Linked DNA regions of Homo sapiens: region 2 is linked to region 1. The links are contacts of gene promoters, found by promoter capture Hi-C in human tissues and cell types (Jung and others, 2019). All regions are on one chromosome and are shown on one strand. Each heading gives the region's core, a stretch centred on a gene start or on the middle of the fragment in contact. The rest is flanking DNA. Distances are from core to core; before and after follow the strand shown. Region 1 holds the start of EEA1 (early endosome antigen 1). Region 2 has its middle 93 kb from the start of LINC02404.

What was found. Contacts are between HindIII fragments. The study calls those that stand out against the background at their distance.
Region 2: a contact is called between a fragment that was not itself captured here and the fragment with the promoter of EEA1 in region 1, in 1 of the 25 tissues and cell types used here (dorsolateral prefrontal cortex).

The regions. Positions count from the first base shown.
Region 1 is chr12:92,927,503-92,930,906 of GRCh38, forward strand. EEA1 (early endosome antigen 1) reads right to left here and starts at 1,793. Exons shown (of 29, transcript NM_003566.4): 1 at 1,541-1,793. The coding sequence starts at 1,564. RefSeq lists an enhancer at 1-82 and a silencer at 1,183-2,262. The HindIII fragment of the contact is 16,341 bases long and covers 391-3,404 here.
Region 2 is chr12:91,780,263-91,783,666 of GRCh38, forward strand. No RefSeq gene overlaps it. Among named protein-coding and RNA genes, the nearest start is that of LINC02404, 93 kb to the right of the region's middle. The HindIII fragment of the contact is 5,622 bases long and covers 1-3,404 here.

The sequences.
Region 1 (3,404 bases), core at 543-3,042:
AGATTACTAGAAAGCATCCCATATTTCTGAAAACCAATCTATAACTACAGCTGAGCTACCCTTAAACCAGTAAACACTTTTATTTGTAAACTTCAAAGCAAACCACAGGCAAACTAATTTTCACTTGCAGAACTATGACAGAAACACAATCTGAAACATGAGGTAATCAGTTCCTCCAGGTCTGATAAAAGAAAAATCTCCTAAAGCCTGAAAGTAAATCATGCACAGATGTCTTTACTGCTGAACTAAGGAAGTGATGGGGAAAGTAAAGGACATGCCCTTGTTACTGCCAAAATCATCGCTTACCGGGATTTCAAAATTCACAAAACACTGCAAAATACAATTAAATGTCAACACAGGTTGTCAGATAAAGAAGTTAACTATTTCTCCCTCTAATAACTGACCAAGTTTCACATGACTTCATTCTTTCAGGAGAAAGCTAGGCAGAAGCAAGAGCACTCCCTTCCTATCTACTGGATGACTCAACTCTCTTCCGCACATTCCTCGGCTGAATCCTACAAATTCACTAATTTCTTTTGTCCTTTGAACTAGTTATCCTACTCCCTCGGTAAAGAACTAATAGGCTCGGCACCTACTTTTCAATCATTTACATTTTGTTACACCCTATCAGCCTCAAAAAGAAAAGAAAAAAGCTATACCAAAAAAAAAAAACAAATTTAAGTTGACAGGTACAATAACTCTTACAGGAAAAGAGATGTGAATTATGTTATTCTAGTAACTGATTCTTAAATGATACACCTACAGTTTTCTAATGCTCTAATCTTTCTATCCTCAAGGTTTTCCAGATTTCAGAGACAGCACAGGCAGAAACTAAGTGTATATACCACTTGATCAAGCTTACTGCGGATTTATTCTTGGATAGCTAAAATAAGGTAGTGGGGCTTGCACAGAAAACATATTTTTAATTAAAAAAAAAGTTTCCAACAGTGAGTAACATCTTCCTTCTCGGCTGACTGTGCCAGTGTCAGTCCCACGCCTGGGCCCAGGCTAGGCCGGGGCTCACCACACCACCCTCCACTGTGGTCCAAAGGAGAAAGCAGGGCCGTGTGTGGCAGGTGCGCATCGTGTCAAATTGGGGGGCACGGGGAGTGCGGCGGGTGGGGAAAGGCGAAGCAAGCCGCCCGAATCTCCCATGGGGCGTTCTCCAGCCCGGCAGGCGGCGGCTGGCCCGTCCCACGGGCACCAACTCTCCATTTTCACTCCCACTCAGGGTTCCCGGGAGGAACGCGCCGGCACCACACCCTCCAGCTCGCAGCCCGCTCGCACACACGGAGCCCCGCGCCGGAGCGGGCGCCAGGCCTGGACGCGCGGGGCCACCAGGGCTCTGCCTGCCGCCCCGCCGCGCCGGCCCCACCCGCCCTCCCCGCCCCCGGGCCGGGCGACCGAGGCCTAAGCGCCTGCCGGGCTGTGGGGCCTAGGGAAGGAAGGAGCCCGCGCTGAGGAGGGGCGCCCGCGCCGCGGCCCCGAGCTCCGGCTGTCCCGCTCACGTGCTGCCAGAAAGACGGTTTCACTCTCTTACCCTCTGTAAAATCCTCCTTAACATGGTTTAACCACCACCCGGCGCCGCCGCGGTGACTCTCCAGACCCTGCGCGGGGCCACTCACTACTCGGGGTGCGCGGGCGGGAGGGACTGGGCCGGGAGGGGACCGGGAAGGAGGTCGGGGCGAGGCGGTGGCGACGGCCGCTCGGGCGGCCCCGACTTCCCCACAGGCGGCGAGAGGGAGCACGCGAGAGAGAGCGAGCGAACGACTAGGCAGCCTGCGAGCGCCTCCAGCCCGCCCGCCGGGCAGCCCCCGTAACTGACAGATGGGCGGGCCCGCCCGCGGCCGCCGGGGGGCGGGGCGGTGGCGGGCCCGCCCCTCGCCTGTCCATTCGCGGGAGGCGGGGCTGAAGGGGGCCGGTCCAGGCCAGCGACCAATCGGAAGCGGTGGCAACGTGGGCGGCTGCGTGACAGACAGGCGGCAGGACGCTGTCGCCGCAGCTTCTTCCGGCTAGCTGGGGGACGCCGAGGCTGCGGAGTGCACGCCTGGGCTCCGTCAGAGGGCCGCGCCCGCGCGACGACCGCGTGCCCGCTAGTGGGAGGCGGGCGAGGACCCCTGGGGGTGTCCCTCCCTGACCCAGGCGGGAGGAGGGGACGCCTTAGGCTGTTTTGTAAAATGTGTCGGTGTGACCCTTCCGGCGATGGCTCCTGACTCGACGTGGTATTGAGCCTGAGCTATATGCTAGTTTCTGCTGGAAACGCTGACTCTGCCTCTTAGCCCCTGGGTTGAAGCCGACTAGAGAATCTCAGACGTGCTTAACCGGTCTGTTGGGCTTCCCTGCCCTTTTCCAGTCCCAGGTTTCCTTTCCCTGCTCCCTTCCTGCTTCTAATTTCAGCCAAAGAGAAAGCAAAGATTTAGAAAAGAAGGGTAGGAAGAAGCTGGAATTTGAATTGGCAAGAGAAGTTTGAGGTTGTCTTTTCTAGATCAAAACAATTTTTAATAGGCTGATGTTCACATGTTGCACTTTCTAAAGCCCGTGCTTGACCTCCTAAGGAATTTTAAGTCCTATTCTGATAATCGATTTATGAAGTAAATTGTCATTAACGCCTCTGTTTTATAGATTAAGAAGAAAATGAGGTCACAGATAAATATCGTGCCAAAACGACGTGGTCTTTGAACTGACCTCCAGGCACGATGTCATTATTTAACTCGAGAAATCACAGCTTCTGCGTCCTACCATTCTGCCAATATTCACAGCCAAGAGGCTCAACTTAACACCCTGGTAGAAAAAGAGAAGCCTTTAATATTGCTTGAATAGGGAAGGAGAGGGAATAATGGAACTAACCTTGCTGGGAGGGAAAAAAAAAAAAAAAGAAAAAACCAACAGACCACTGAATGAAGCCTATGAAGCAATGAATGGAGTGCTTTTTGGAAAGCACTTCCAGATCTTTTGAAAAGCAGCACAAAATTAAATATTATTTGCAAATCAGTTAATGAATAGGAAAATGTTTTGTAAAGTATAATGCATTATATAATGTAATATGATATTTCTATCCCAAATATATTTGGTTTTTTATTATGTGTGTGTGTGTCTCTCGATGGTGCAGCAGCACGGTCATGCCTACAGCTAATATATGAGTAATCACTAGTGATAATGCACTTACAAAGAACATACTTTTCCATCTTTCTAAACATGAGGTGCTTTATTTTCAGACAATATGGGAAACATTCTCAGCGACATGGGGTGATAAAAGTGACTTTTTTTCTCTTTTTTGTTTGTTTTTCAAAAATTAGTTTAGGGTCAGGCACACTGATTTTATGCCTGTAATCCCAGCACTTCGGGAGACGGAAGCAGACAGATTGCTTGAGCTCAGGAGTTTCAGACCAACCTGGACAACATGG
Region 2 (3,404 bases), core at 635-3,134, 1.1 Mb before region 1:
TTTGTTTGATTTTATTAAATACAATATATTACTTTTGTAATACCTCAATGCTTATTTTAACCATTTATTAAAACTCTGGGCTGAGGTAGGGAAATGTACAACATTAAACTGAGTGTTGGCTCTGGTTGTTGCAGTCTTCACAGTAAAAAAACAACACATAAGTTTTGGGTTTTTTTTTTTTTTAATGAGTTTTTGACTGATCTTAAACAACCGGCTAAATTACGTTTTGTATTTAAGATAATTTTGTCCACTAGATCACTATTCTGTTCTTGTACACACAAACCCTCTGGTCTTCAAGAATGTGGCTGACATATCAGATAGTTTATGAATCCACAGTGTCATTTGGTGTGCAAAACACTGACCTTAACCCTTAAAGAATAATCAATTATTGGGGTTAAATCTGCAAGTGTTTTATTTAGTATCTAACCACCAACTATATGCCCTTGAAGAACTTTTCTGGTATTATTTTTTTACTCTCCAAAAGCTCAGGCCTTGATACTTGAGTATTATTTATGTCATATTTTACTTATGTAAGTCTTTGTGTGAAGGCCTCCAAAGATATCGTGCCTATTTTGTGATCTTGTTGTTTATAGACTCTTCTATGAAAGCAAAATATATGCATTTGGCTGAGTACATTTGGAGCCAAGGTAGGGGAGCTGGAATAGAAGAGTCCTTGAATGGTATTTGAGCATTATCTTTTTTAAAGAAAACATTTAAAAAGCACATTAAAAATTACTCTTGCATGTTACTTTAGACAGAGAGATCCCTAACATTCGTTGCTTTCTAATTTTCCTCTCCTTCTGGGGATACAATTGTGTCACACTTTCTAGCCACTTTGTAGTTTGATGGGGCCACATGCTGGTGATGGCCAATGGACTGTGTGTAAACAGATGTGCATTAATTCTGAACCAAACCCTGAACAGAGAAAATCCTTCCATCACACCTTCTCCCCTTCTCCCTTTCCTGGTGAATCTGAAAGCCACACTATAGCCAGAACATGCAGCTATAAGGTGGAGCTGTCCAATAGCTCCTTTGTTAGCCTAGATCTCTGAGTGTAGGAGCTTCATGGATACTAGCCACCTTGGAGAGTGGCATGGATCATAAGCATAAGAAATAGGGCTGTGGTATGTTTGCAACGGAGACTTCAGTGCTGTTTTTTCCTGATGCGTAATCCAGCCTCTTCTGACTAACAGCCATGTCTGTGCCTCATGAAATTTCAGTTACTTTTAATTTAATTTTGTTTAAAATATAGCTTTTAAGAGTCTGATACATACTAGGCACTGTGTTTGGTGCCAGGAATACAAAGATAAAAAATCTCATATTGAATGGGCAAAAACTGGAAGCATTCCCTTTGAAAACCAGCACAAGACAAGGATGCCCTCTCTCACCACTCCTATTTAACATAGCATTGGAAGTTATGGCCAGGGCAATCAGGCAAGAGAAAGAAATAAAGGGTATTCACAGAGGAGGAGAGGAAGTCAAATTGTCTCTGTTTGCAGATGACATGATTGTATATTTAGAAAACCCCATCGTCTCAGCCCAAAATCTCCTTAAGCTGATAAGCAACTTCAGCAAAATCTCAGGATACAAAATCAATGTGCAAAAATCACCAGCATTCCTACATACCAATAACAGGCAAGCCGAGAGCCAAATCATGAATGAACTCCCATTCACAATTGCCACAAAAAGAATAAAATACCTAGGAATAGAGCTAACAAGGGAAGTGAAGGACCTCTTCAAGGAGAACTACAAACCACTGCTCAAAGAAATCAGAGATGATAAAAACAAATGACAAAACATTCCATGCTCCTGGATAGGAAGAATTAGTATCATGAAAATGGCCATAGTGCCTAAAGCAATTTATAGATTCAATGCTAATTCAATTAAACTACATTCTTTACAGAATTACATTGACATTCTTTACAGAATTAGAAAAAAAACTATTTTAAAATTCATATGGAACCAAAAAAGAGCCCATATGGCCAAAACAATCCTAAGCAAAAAGAACACAGCTGGAGGTATAACGCTACCAGACTTCAAACGATACTACAGGGATACAGTAACCAAAACAGCATGGTACTGGTACAAAAATAGACACATAGACCAATGGAAAAGAATAGAGAACTTAGAAATAAGACTGCACACCTACAAGCATCTTATCTTCAACAAACCTGACAAAAACAAGCAATGGGGAAAGGATTCCCTATTTAATACATGGTGCTGGGATAACTGGCTAACGATATGCAGAAAATTGAAACTGGACCCCTCCTTATACCATGTACAAAAATCAACTTAAGATGTATTAAAGACTTAAATGTAAACCCAAAACTATAAAAACCCTAGAACCTACACAATACCATTCAGGACACAGGCATGGGCATATATTTTATGATGAAGGTACCAAAAGCAATTGCAACAAAAGCAAAAATTGATAAATGGAATCTAATTAAACTAAAGAGCTTCTGCACAGCAAAAGAAACTATCATCAAAATGAATAGACAACCTATAGAATAGGAGAAAAATTTTGCAATCTATCCATCTGAAAAGATCTAATATCCAGAGTCTACAAAGAGCTTAAACAAATCAACAGGCAAAAAAAACAAAAACAACCCCATTATAGAGTGGGCAAATGACATGAACGCTTCTCAAAAGAAGATATACATGCAGCCAACAAACATGAAAAAAAGCTCAACATTACTGATCATTAGAGAAATTCAAGTCAAAACCATAAGTGAGATACCATCTCATGCCAGTTAAAATAGCTATTGTTAAAAAGACAAAAAAAGACAGATGTTCATGAGGTTGTGGAGAAGAACACTTTTCTACTGTTGGTGGGAGTGTAAATTAGTTCAACCATTGTGGAAGACAGTGTGGTGATTCCTCAAAGACATAGAGGCAGAAATATTGTTTGACCCAGCAATCCCATTACTGGGTATATACCCAAAGGAATACAAATCATTATACTATAAAGATACATGCATGCATATGTTCATTGAGCACTATTCACAATAGCAAAGGCATGGAATCCACCTAAATGCCCATCAGTGACAGGCTGGATAAAGAAACTGTGGTACATACACACCATGGAATACTATGTAGCCATAAAAAGGAACGAGACCATGCTCTTTGCAGGGACATTGATGGAGCTGGAAGCCATTATTCTCAGCAAACTAATGCAGGAACAGAAAACAAAAGACTGCATGTTCTCACGTATAATTGGGAGCTGAATGATGAGAACATATGGATGCATGATGGGGAACAACACACACTGGAGCCTGCTGGGGACGGGGGGAGGGAGAGCATCCAGAATAGGTTATGGATGCTGGGCTTAATACCTAGGTGATGAGATGATTTGTGTGGCAAACCACCATGGCACACTTTTACCTATGCAGCAAACCTGCACA